Linked DNA regions of Homo sapiens: region 1 is linked to region 2. The links are contacts of gene promoters, found by promoter capture Hi-C in human tissues and cell types (Jung and others, 2019). All regions are on one chromosome and are shown on one strand. Each heading gives the region's core, a stretch centred on a gene start or on the middle of the fragment in contact. The rest is flanking DNA. Distances are from core to core; before and after follow the strand shown. Region 1 holds the start of CAMKV (CaM kinase like vesicle associated). Region 2 overlaps IP6K1 (inositol hexakisphosphate kinase 1).

Evidence for each region. The method cuts DNA at HindIII sites, captures the fragments that hold promoters and counts their contacts. A contact is called where the count stands out against the background at its distance.
Region 1: a contact is called between the fragment with the promoter of CAMKV here and a fragment that was not itself captured in region 2, in 1 of the 25 tissues and cell types used here (mesenchymal stem cells).

What each region holds. Positions count from the first base shown.
Region 1 is chr3:49,865,508-49,871,828 of GRCh38, forward strand. It overlaps CAMKV (CaM kinase like vesicle associated), which reads right to left and starts at 4,399. Exons shown (of 11, transcript NM_024046.5): 1 at 4,251-4,399. RefSeq lists enhancers at 2,219-3,151, 3,152-4,083. The HindIII fragment of the contact is 8,966 bases long and covers 2,878-6,321 here.
Region 2 is chr3:49,739,864-49,746,042 of GRCh38, forward strand. All of the region lies in intron 2 of IP6K1 (inositol hexakisphosphate kinase 1), which reads right to left. Among named protein-coding and RNA genes, the nearest start is that of GMPPB, 19 kb to the left of the region's middle. The HindIII fragment of the contact is 4,614 bases long and covers 1-3,988 here.

The DNA.
Region 1 (6,321 bases), core at 3,149-5,648, 130 kb after region 2:
ATAACATTAAAAAAAATTCAGCAACTACCTAAATGTCCAACAACAGGTGACTCGCCAGCTCAACTGTGTCCACTCAATGGTAGGAAGTGTGGGCACTGGCAAGAGCTCTGCCCACCTTGGCTTTCCTGTGGAGCAGCTGCCACATGAGCGAGGTGCTGAGAGCAGAACTGAATCTCTTCTTTCATTGTGATTTCTGACATTATAAGGTGGTTTGTGCAACACATTGTCCAAAACAATCCTGATGCTCGAAGGCCAGACTCAAAATGGCCCTTTTCTGAGATACCTTCCACAACCTCCATGCCCCACCCCCCACCCCACTCCAACAGCTCCCAGCTTTGCCAGTGTGGCGTGGGTGGGAGGTTTTGTGCATGCCTGTCCTTGATCCTGGCCCCAGCTTTCGGCTCTGCATATGCATTCGTGCCCACTGAGGTCCAGGGCTGGTCATGGGGGTCTGTCCCATGAAAGGCACAGAAAACTGGGCCTCCACCCCGTAATGTCAGCCTGGAGCCATGTCCTGAAGCCTCAAGGCTGAGATGGGAACAGATCTGTCTCCCCTGCCCCCTACTATGGCTGCCCAAATTTCAGCCAGTCACTCCTCCTCCTCCTCCTCCTCACCAGTCTAAGTATACTGGCTTGGGGCCCTGGACTTGGCCCCAGGGCAAAGAGAGGAGAAAGAGGGGCCTGGCTTTCAATTAGCACCTTGGTTCCCTCTGCCCACACCCACTCCACCATCTGCTATCCACTGTTGCTCCCTGGGAGGTTTCGGGTGTGTGCACCAAGCCCTGGGCACCTGCTTGCAACAAAGGAGACCTGGGAGGAACAGCCAAGGGACAGCTCTCAGAAAGAGAGGAGGCCAAGTGGAAGGGGTTTGTATTTTTCACCCCCATGGCCCAGACCCAACACCCAACAATGGAGAGCTCTCCTCTCAGCAACACAGGATCTGAGCTCTTCCTCAGGTACACTTAGGCCATGGAAGGGCATGGGAGCTCCACAACAGCCATTTCCCTGGAGACATGGCTCCCTCCACTCTCTGCAGAGGAACTGAACAGTATGCACTACCGGCTGCCCAGAGGGAGCTTGTGGGGAGTGCAGGCCCTGGTGCGGCCATTGCCCTCCAGCTGGCTCTCATGGAGCCTGAGAGCCAAGCACTCCCCAGTTATGGCCTGCTCCCAGGGCCTGACCACTGGACTCAGGGAATTGAGCCTCCAGCAATCCTGAGGGGTCCTCTGTTGGTGCCCTGGTGATAAATGGTCCCCCAGGGACTCTGCTGCATCTTTAGGTAAGTCTGGCCCAGGGAAAGCCCAAACGGGACAAAGGCCAAGAGGTCCGGAGGCCCCACATTGGGGTCCTGTCCCCTCCTCCGCTGAGATCATCCTGGTTCAGGCCCTACCTTTCATAGACATAAACAGAGTTTCCTGCTACCTTGGTCCCCTGCCACGTGGGGCTCCAGAGCTTGCAGTAAATCTAGGGAGGCCAGGAGGGGCCCAAGAGGCCTCCAGCTGCCTCCCAACAACTGTAGGCAACACCTCCTAATTTAGTGGCAGCTGTGAACACCAGCCTGCAGGCACCCCCTCCTCTCTGCTGCTCTACTCTCTCAAGGGCTGGGGCTGGGTTTCCTGCTGCAATGAACATGCTGAAGCCCAAGCCCTGCTTAACTCACAGCTGAGGTGTCACCCACAGGACCAGGGGAGCTGAAGACCTCCCTCAAGGTCTGTTAAGAACAAGGGCCAAGCTTCTAGACCACCATCCAATTGCTTCAGGGGACCGGTCAAGGGGCTGCCCTGACTGAGCCTCCGGCTCGAGCTAAATCATGGTAGAAGTTCCTACAGCTGAATTTTGCCCATCTAATGAGGGAGTATTGTGGGGAGGTCTCTCCAGTTTTGGGGGTGGGCATGCAGTCCAGTGCTACATCCCGAAAGTTTAGCTGTCAACATGCAGGCAAAGCCAAAGGCCAGCTGTCTCCTCCCAAGCACTTGGGGTCCAAATCTCTGAACCCCTGAAGGAGAATCCACTGGAGGCTCTGCTTCCCTGTGGGTGGAGGAGGGGAAATGCAGAGGAAGGCACTAGAGTAAAGGGTTGCTATGGTGATGGAAGTTTTAAAACAAGGGGAGGGGGAGGGGAGATGTGTTGGTCAGGTCCCTTCTTCAAGAATTTCCTGAGACCTTAGCCTGGCTGCTTCTTCAAGGTTCTGTGACCCAGGTCCCCATCAAGAAAGGGGAGGTGGGGAGATGGAGAGAATTTAGAAAAAAGAGAATGGGGCAGAGACACAGACAAAGACAGAACCTGTGATGGAAGAGGAGCAAGGAGATGACAAAGTAAAAGGGACACAGGCACAAAGGGCAGGAAAGGGGAGGTGGACGGGAGTTCTGAAGGGGGCGGATGGGTGCCCAGCAGAGCCCTAAGGCCTCCATGGCGATGTGCTCTAAATCCCTGGGCCAGGAGCTATCCATGGTACTGGGACCTTCGAGACTGCACCCTCCTGTATCCCCCAAACATACACTGAACTTGGTGTAGGAGGCACAGCCAAAAGGAGGCCAGCTCCTTGGAGCATGTTGGTGGGGAAGAGGCCAGCTGCTGCAGCCCCCCAGTCAGGACAGTTCCCAGCCCGTCTCTCTGCCATCACGGCAGCTTAGGTAAAGCAGGTCCAACATGTTGAAGGCAGACGCATAGGGGTATGGAAATGAGGCTCGGATGCCTGGCTGCTTCCCTTTATAGTCCCTCTTCTCAGTTGGCCCAGCTGTACTTAGACCCTCCCAGCCAACCCCTCCCCCATCTGCTATCCTTTCCAGGCTTTGGGTCCCCAGAGCCCCTCTTACAGCTCTGCTTAATCCCCTCTCACCAACCCCCAACAGCAGATCCTGCCATGAGTGCCAGAAACGGCACCACAAGCAACCCAGAAACAGGATAACCACACAGCCCTTCACCTCCCCATGCCTCAGTTTCCCCTAATGGAAACCATGGAATCTGGCCTTCTCCCAGGGCAGAGGACTGCTTGCCTGCCTGTGAATGGTGGCCAGGGCATGGGGCTGGAGAGTAGGGCCATCAGAGATATGTGAACAGCCAGCCTAGGAGAGCACCTGAAGGGTCCACACCAAATATTAGAAAAGGGAGACCCTTGCCCCACCCTGGAAACCAACCTGACTCTGAGTGGAGACACCAGTTCCCCAGTTGAGGAAACTGAGGCTCAGAAGTCGCTGGAGCTGCCAGGAATCAACTCTGAGGGTGGGGGAGGGCACCAGGTCTCTAAAGGTAGTCCTGGGGGCTCAAAGCCTGGACTTGGGGGTAAGGGGAGTACAGCACAGGGACTGGACTACTGCAGACTCTGAGCTTTTAGTGTGGGACAGAGGGCCCTGATCCTTAGGAAGGAACCTGGTGGAGCAGGATCTGCCTGGGAGGTGCGGACAAAAGCAATTTGGCAGAGCTATGCGGGGAGGGGGCTGGGGCTCAAGAGCCCAGGGTCTCTGCCAAACAGTACAAGCTGGGGAAGGCAGAAGCTCATGCTGTCACTATCCCAGCCACCTCCAGCCAGGGGCCCTGCTCCCCACCGTGCTGCCACCCTGACCCCTTTCCCAAGTGCTGCTGGCTCGCCCCCGCTGGCACAGCAACACACATGCGGAAAGCACACGTGTGAGCACCAAGCCCCGCACCTCCCAGCAGGAACATGTGCGCCCCCACCCCCACCGTGCACGTGGGTCCATGCACTGGACCCCCAGCTGGCACCCAGGTGAAGGCTTGGAAGCTGAATTTTGGCTGGGGGGCTGCTGGTCCCCAGGGGCTTGGAGCTTCCTCCCCCACCCCGCGGCAGCCCCGCCCAGCCCCCTCCGGGTTGTCGCCCATAAAGAACTCTCCGTTGTCATGGAAATTAGTGACTGCTAAGCGGGAGGGAAGGGGCCCGGGGACAGTTGGGAGGGGCTGGAGGCGGCTCTGGGAACGGGGAGGGACGGCTCAGCTCTCGGCCCCTATCCTCACGGGGGACCACGAATCTTCGAGGGTTAATCTTTTCACAATTCCGAGCCGCAGAAGCTTCCCCCCAGAACCCCCAAGCCGTCCGAGGTAATGGGGAACTTTAGCCCGACCCCGCACTCCCTCCCCCAAATCTGCAAAGCCCGCGCGCTCTGACCCCGCCAGGACCTCGAGCCCTCGCTGCGCCCCCGCGCACTCTGCATCCCGCACCTCGAGCCAGGGAAACAATCCCCCAAGGCCCCACAACCTGCGTTCGGGAAGCGCCCCCAGCCCGGCCCGCCCCGCACCTGCAGCGCCGGTTGGTCACAGGGAGGAAGTGATCGCGGGCTCAGCGGGGCGCCGAGGGCTCCGGGGACGGCGGGCAGAATCCGCTCCGAGCACGCGGGGCAGACGCGGCGCCAGATGCAGCCGCTTCGGCTAGCGAACCTCCAGCATCGCCAGCCGCTTGCCGGCACCGGATTCGCACCCCGGGCCGGGGGCGGGCTGGGGGCGGGGCCTCCCAACCGGCCCCGCCCCGACCCTGGCGGAGCCTTAAGGGCAGAATCCCACTGGAGAGCAGGAGCGCGCGGGATGGCAGCGGTGCTGGTGAGCACTGGCCTGCTTAGCCCTGGCCAAGGTTCTCAATGGCTCCCTTAGGCCCTCAGCCTGGGGCCGGAGGAGGCCTCCTATGCCCAATGTAAGGGGTGGTGAGTGGAGAGTTGGGGGAAAGCCTGAGTCCTGGAGCTGCATAGGATCGCTTGCCAGTCATTAGTCTCTAGGGAACGGGGCTTTGCCCAGCTCCCCGAACCCGACCCAAAAGGCAGGACCAACTTAGAAAAACCAGATGGGCAGTCGGGCTAGGGCAGGCTCCCCTAGCTAGGAGCAGTAAACACACAGAGGTGTGTGTTTGCAGGTAGTCAGTGTGGCATCCCCTAGCATCCCCTAGCTACGCATCCCCTAGCTAGGAGCAGTAAACACACAGAGGTGTGTGTTTGCAGGTAGTCAGTGTGAAAACAGTGAGGGCCCTAGACTGTAGTAGCAAAGTCTCCTATCCCACCCCATCCCCAACTCCTGCAAGGCCAGAGTCTTTCCCAAACATAAGTACCAGCAAGGGTGGCAGCACAGTCAGCCCCTTCCTGTGTGGCACCAAATTTCCCAAACTATAAAAGTCACCTGTGACATGGTGTGGCCTCTGCTTTCTTTTCAGTCTAATCACTGTCAAACACTTCATGAGTTGTATCACTCTAGTGGCCTGGCCTGGGATATGGGGACACAGGAGAACTGTGGCACCAAGGTATCCCACCTGGCCTGGGTGCTAATCAGAGGGAGGAGGCTCAGAACCACCAGGAGGAAGCTTTAAAGGAAGTCCTTGGCCATTTCTCTGTCCCTTGTCAGTGAGGCTCACGGACCCAAAGCCTGACCCACACCCCTCACAAGCCCTGAGGACCATCCTAAGGCCAGTATCTGAAGACCAGACTCAGGCCTCTCAGTGTCTGGAGCTGGGTTTTATCCCACCTCACTCCTCCCAGTGAGCCTCCTGACCCTGCTGTGGGAGAGGGAGTTGGGGTCATCCCCAAACCCTCAGCCATCTTGAGGCTGCCCTGGCCACCCATGGCTGATGACAGGAGGGACTGTCCAAGTCCAGAAGCTGGGGCTGGGGCTCAGACTGAAGGCTAGCTTAGGAAATGACCGCCTCAAACAAGGTTCCTCAAAATTTTCCTCCAGAGGGGGTACTGAGCCCTTCACCTTCCTCCCTGGCTTGGTGTTACCTCCTCTAGGCCAGGCTGGTGCCACTTCTGGGGTCCCTGGGCTCTGAGTGGTCTCGGGTTATGGGACCCACCCCACCACTGGGTAGGAATCTCCTGGCAGGCTGGGTATCTGCAAGGCAGAACCCGTTTCTCATCTCAGTATGCTCGGCTGATGTCTGCAGAATGAATGAATGGCCTGGCACTGAGTCCTTCCTGCCATCTGCCCACTATTCTTGAAACAATGGGTCTCTGAGTTTTATGGTGTAGCCAAGCTGTAGCTTGCTGACCCCACACATGCCACATACATGTTTTCTGTCTTTCCTGAGGGTCATGGCTATCCAGGCATGGGGGTCAATGAGAAGCTGGAATGGGGATTTTTAGGCAGGGGAAGGGGTGGCTCCTTAGCGCCCTGCCTGCTGCTGGCAGTACTCCACCTCTTCTTGGTCCTAAGCACGCTCTGTGCATGTGGGTGAGAGCACGTGGCAGGGTGTGTGTGCACACGTGTACGTGTTGTGTATGCTCTCTTTTGCCGAGGGAGATGCAACAGCACAGTGTATGCAGTGGTGCCCAGGGGCACGTGTGTCTGCATTCTTTGTGCACCCAGGCATGCTTGCTGGCACGTGTGTGTGGA
Region 2 (6,179 bases), core at 432-2,931:
AGTTATCCAGACATGGTGGTGCGTGCCTATAATCCCAGCTACTCAGGAGGCTGAGGCAGGAGAATCACTTGAAGCCGGGAGACGGAGGTTGCAGTGAGCCAAGATCAGCCTGGGCAACAGAGCAACACTCCATCTCAAAAAAATAAAATAAAAATAAAATAAAATTGTGGTGTTTGGGCCAGGTTCAGTGGCTCACACTGTAATTCCAGCTCTTTGGGAGGCCAAGGCAGGACTGCTTGAACACAGGAGTTCAAGACCAGCCTGAGCAACACAGCAAGACCCTGTCTCTATAAAATATAAAAATAAAAATAAGTTGTGGTGTTCAGTCAATAGATCGATCGATAGAAACATAAAATTTGCAATTCTTTTTTTTTTTTTTTTTTTTTTGGTAGCGACAAGGCTTGCTATGTTGCCCAGTCTGGTCTGGAACTCCGGGCCTCAAACAATCCTCTTGCCTTCGCTTCCCAAAGTGCTAGGATTACTGGTGTGAGCCACCATGCCCAGCCATTTAATCATTTTTAAAGGTACAATTCAGTGGGCATTAAGTACATTGACAATACTGAATAACCACCACCATTATCTATTTCCAAAATGTTTTTCATCACCTGAAACAAAAATGCTGTACCCATTAAGCAGTAACTCCCCATTTTCCCTTCCTCCTAGCCCCAGTAACCAAATCTACTTTCTATCTCTACAGATTTGCCTATTATGCATATTTCATATAAGTGAAATCATACAATGTTTGTTCTTTTGTGTCTGGCTTAGTTCACTTAGCATAGTGTTTGCAAGGTTCATCTGTGTCACAGCATATATCAGAACTTCATTCTTTTTTATGGCTCAATAGTATTCCATTGTAAGTATATATCACATCTGTTATGTATTATCTATATTGATGGACACTTGGGTTGTTTCCACCTTTTAGCTATTATGAATGATGCTGTTGTGAACACTGGCTTACAACAATCCATTTGAATCCCTGTTTTTTCTTTTTTCTTTTTTTTTTTTTTTGAGATGGAATCTTGCTCTGTCGCCCAGGCTGGAGTGCAGTGGTGCAACCTCAGCTCACTGCAATCTCCGCCTCCCGAGGTGATTCTCCTGCCTCAGCCTCCTGAGGAGCGGGGATTACAGGTGCCTGCCACCACGCTCGGCTACTTTTTGTATTTTTTAGCAGAGACAGGGTTTTGCCATGTTAGCCAGGCTGGTCTTGAACTACTGACCTCAGGTGATCTGCCCGCCTCCCAAAGTACTAGGATTACAGGCATGAGCCACTGCACCTGGCCACAGTCCCTGTTTTCAATTGTTTTGGATATATATGTAGGAGTGGAATTGCTGGATCATATGGTTTCTGTGTTCACCTTTGGGAGGAACTGCCAAACTCTTTTCCACAGTGGCTACACCACTTTACATTTTCATCAGCAATGTTCCCATTTCTCCACATCCTTGCCAACAGTTATTTCCCTTTTTTCTTTAAACTATTATAGCCATACTAGGTAAAATAAGATACCTGGTATGAAGTGGTATCTTATTTTGGTTTTGATTTGCATTTCTTAATGACTAATCATGTTGATGTGCTACTGGCCATCTGTATGTCCTCTCTGGAAAAATCTCTATTCAAGCCCTTTGTGCAGTTTTGAAACTGGGTGATTTTTATTGCTTTCAAAACATAATCAGAAGAATACTAAATTTGGAAAAATAAATATTCTAAGGCTGCTAAATAAGAACAAAGCCAGAAATAAACACACTGCTTTCTCCAAGTGGCTAGGAAACTTTAACAGTCCCAAACACTTTATAAATGTAGCTTCAGCCACCTATCCATCCACATTCAAAACACTGAAGGCCAAACATTCTGCCATAAATATGCCAAAGCCAGAAATAAAACTATAGGCCCTGTCAGCTCATGGAGTCCTTCTGATGCTAAGGAAAAAATCCCTTAAAAGGTAAATGAGCCCTGCTTCCAGATAGGTGTTCTCTAAATTACAACCATCAGAACTGGGACAAGACAATTTAGAACTTCAAGGTGCCTCCCAGGGAAGGGTTGGCAGTCTCTAGCACTGGTTCAGTATTTCCTCACACCTTCCTCCTCTCAAACTGAGTAACAGGTATCTTTAAAGGCCATAATATGAGAGGATTGCTTGAGGTCAGGAGTTTGAGTCTGCAGTGAGCCATGACTGTACCACTGCACTCCAGCCTGGGCGACACAGCAAGACCCTGTCTCAAAATAAAAATAAAAAAATAAAAGCCACAGTAAATTCTTAGGATCTACTTTATTTTCTTTGCTTAGGCTACATTTTCACTAGGAAAGAATAAATATGCTAGCTCAAAAGTACAATTCAATTAAACTAAAATTAATCCCTTCTTTCTAAGTCAAATGAAGCCCAATTTAGTCAAAGAAAATAGAAGCATAGGCTGGGCACGGTGGCTTACGCCTGTAATCCCAGCACTTTGGGAGGCTGAGGGGGGCGGATCACGAGGTCAGGAGATTGAGACCATCCTGGCTAACACGGTGAAACCCTGTCTCTACTAAAAATACAAAAAATTAGCCGGGCGTGGTGGTACACGCCTGTAGTCCCAACTACTCGGGAGGCTGAGGCAGGAGAATGGCGTGAGCCCGGGAGGCAGAGCTTGCAGTGAGCCAAGATCGCGCCACTGCACTCCAGCCTGGGCAACAGAGTGAGACTCCATCTCAAAAAAGAAAAAGAAAAAAAAATAGAAGCATAGTGGAAGATATTATTAGTCAAATTAATCTATTTCAGGGCCAGGCATGGTGGCTCACATCTGTAATCCCAGCACATTGGGAGGCCAAGGCAGGCAGATCACTTAAGCTTAGAAGTTTGAGACCCGCCTGGGCAACATGGTGAGACCCTGTCTCTACAAAATACAAAAAAAAAGAGCCGGTGCACACCTGTGGTCCCAGCTACTCCAGAGGCTGAGGTGGGAGAATCACTTGAGCCCAGGAGGTCAAGGCTGTGGTGAGTTGAGATCGTGCCACTGCATTCCAGTCTGGGCAACAGAGTGAGACCCTGTCTCAAAATAGTATATAAATAAATAAATTGGACTAAAATTTTATATTAAAAAAACACACAGTCCAGCCACGGTGGCTCATACCTGTATCCAGGCACTTTGGGAGGCCAAGGCAAGTGGGTCACTTAAGGTCAGGAGTTCGAGACCAACCTGACCAACATGGTGAAACCCCATCTCTACTAAAAATACAAAAATTAGCCAGGAATGGTGGCAGGCACCTGTAAGTCCCAGCTACTCAGGAGGCTGAGGTCCTTGAACCCAGGAGGTAGAGGTTGCAGTGAGCCAAGTTCATACCACTGCACTCTAGCCTAGGCAATGAAGCAAGACCCTATCTCAAAACAAAAACAAAAACAAAATACACACACACACACACACACACACACACACACACACACACTTACCTTTCAGCTGGGAGCAGTGGCTCACACCTGTGATCCCAGCTACTTGGGAGGCTGAGGTATCATGCCTCATGGAGGAGGATCACTTGAGACCAGGAGTTCAAGACTAGCCCAGGCAACATAGTGAGGTCCGATCTCTTAAATCTCAGCACTATGAGAGGCCAAGGTGGGAGGATTCCTTGAGGCTAGGAGTTCAAAACTAGCCTGGGTAACAGAGCAAGACCCTGTCTCTACAAAAAACTTTAAAAATTACCTAGTTGTAGTGGCGTGCCTATAGTCCCAGCTACTCGGGGGGCTGAGGTGGGAGGATCACTTGAGCCATAGTTTTTTTTTTTTGTTTTTTTTTTTTTTTTGAGACAAGAGTTTCACTCTTGTTGCCCAGGCTGGAATGCAATGGCGTGGTCTCTGCTCACTGCAACCTCTGCCTCCCGGGTTCAAGTGATTCTTCTGCCTCAGCCTCCCAAGTAACTGGGATTATAGGCACCTGCCAGCACACCCAACTAAGTTTTGTATTTTTAGTAGAGACAGGGTTTCACCATGTTGGCGAGGCTGGTCTCGAACTCCTGACCTCAGGTGATCCGCCTGCCTCGGCCTCCCAAAGTGCTAGGATTATAGGCATGAGCCACCATGCCCGGCGGAGCCATGGTTTCGAGGCTGCAGTGAGGTATGATTGCACCACTGCACAATGCGCCACAATTATTACTGTGTTGTAATGTCTAATGGTGTGTGTAATGCCTAATGGTGTGTGCTGAATGGTATTACTGTGTTGTCTGCCTAATGGTGACTTCTATTCCCATCATTCCTTCTATATTTATTAATCAAAATAAATCAGAATTCTGGCCGGGCACGGTGGCTCACTCCTGTAATCCCAGCACTTTGGGAGGCCGAGGCAGGTGGATCACAAGGTCAGGAGATTGAGACCATCCTGGCTAACATGGTGAAACCCTGTCTCTACTAAAAATACAAAAGATTAGCCAGGCTTGGTGGCGGGAGCCTGTAGTCCCAGCTACTCGGGAGGCTGAGGCAGAAGAATGGCGTGAACCCGGGGGGCAGAGCTTGCAGTGAGGCGAGACTGCGCCACTGCACTCCAACCTGGACAACAGAGCGAGACTCCGTCTCAAAAAAAAAAAAAAAAAAAAAAAAAAAGAAATTAGAATTCTATAAGGAAGAGTTGTCCCTTCATATCCATGTATTTATCAGTATAGACTTGTGGATATTTTGTCATTTAAATTCTTCTAGATTGGGCCCTTCAATTCCTTTAAAGTTAGCTCTTCGTACTTCTGACATGATTTTTGACCACTTCTTTACTATCTGTCACCATAAGATGTTCTAGGCTTGTCTTATAATTTTCCTGCCCGAACTCAGGAACCAACCATTTCACCAAGGAGCTCTGTTTCTTTTTATTGTAAGAATGGTATTTAGAAAACTCAGGATTTGGTTACTAGATATACTGATTGCTACTGAAGTATCACTGCTTTTAGGCCCTTTCAGCACATGGAGCTAAGAAATACATGTATGATTACTAGCCCACACACATACACACATCTAATTGCTGCTATCAGCACAGGTGTTTAAGCTCAATTAAGCTAAGAAAAAGTGTCAATAATATTTCATATCTTGGCAGGTTTAAAAACAAATTTTCATTTATTTAGTATGACCAGCTACAATCATCAACTGTTAGTGCTTGCAGTACTAAATGTGAAGTTCAAGGCTTCTGTACATTTATGCAAATAAGCTTTGCCTCATTCATTTATCAAGTATTTACTGACCATCTACTAGATGCCAGGCCCTGAACTCATAAGTGTAAAAGACAAAAAAAAAAGTCCATACCTTCAAGGAGCTTCCATACTAATGTGAAAAACAAACACATAGACAAAAATACAGATTGTGATAAGTGCTATGAAGAAACTAAGTAAGGTTCTATCACTGAAAATATGGTTTCCAGAGCAGAATATAATATAGGATGATCAGGGAAGAAGTGTCTGGGGAGACCTAATAAACTAAAGGTTGGAGGAGCAGGTGTGGATAAGGGTACTGGAAAGAACATTCCAAGCATAAGTAAAATCCCTGAGGTTAATTAAAATAAAAATGAAATTTAAAAAGCTTGAGATGTCCTAAAAACTGGTTCACCTCTTTCTGCCAATTAAGAAACAACCCAGGCCAGTCATGGTGGCTCACACCTATAATCCCAACACTTTGGGAGGCCAAGGCAGGTAGGTCACCTGAGTTGAGTTTGAGACCAGCCTGGCCAATATGGCAAAACCCCGTCTCTACTAAAAATACAAAAATTAGCCAGGCATGGTGGCACATGACTGTAATCCCAGCATTTTGGGAGGCCAAGGCAGGCAAATCACCTAAAGTCAGGAGTTCGAAAGCAGCTTGCCCAACATGGTGAAACCCCATCTCTACTAAAAATACAAAATTTAGTTAGGCGTGGTGGCACATGCCTGTAATCCCAGCTACTTGGGAGGCTGAGGCAGAAGAATCGCTTGAACACGGAGGTGGAGATTGCAGTGAGCCGAGATCGTGCCACTGCACTCCAGCCTGGGCGACAGAGCAAGACTCTGTCTCAAAAAAAAAAAAAAAAAAAGACAGAAACAACCCAATTCAAAATGGTCAAAGGACTTGAATAGACATTTCTTTAAGAAGGTATACCAACAGACAATAACAAAAAAATCCTCTGCATCATTCGTTAGACATTAGGAAAAAGCAAGTCAAAGCCACAGATACCACACACATCCACTAGGATGGCTACAAAAA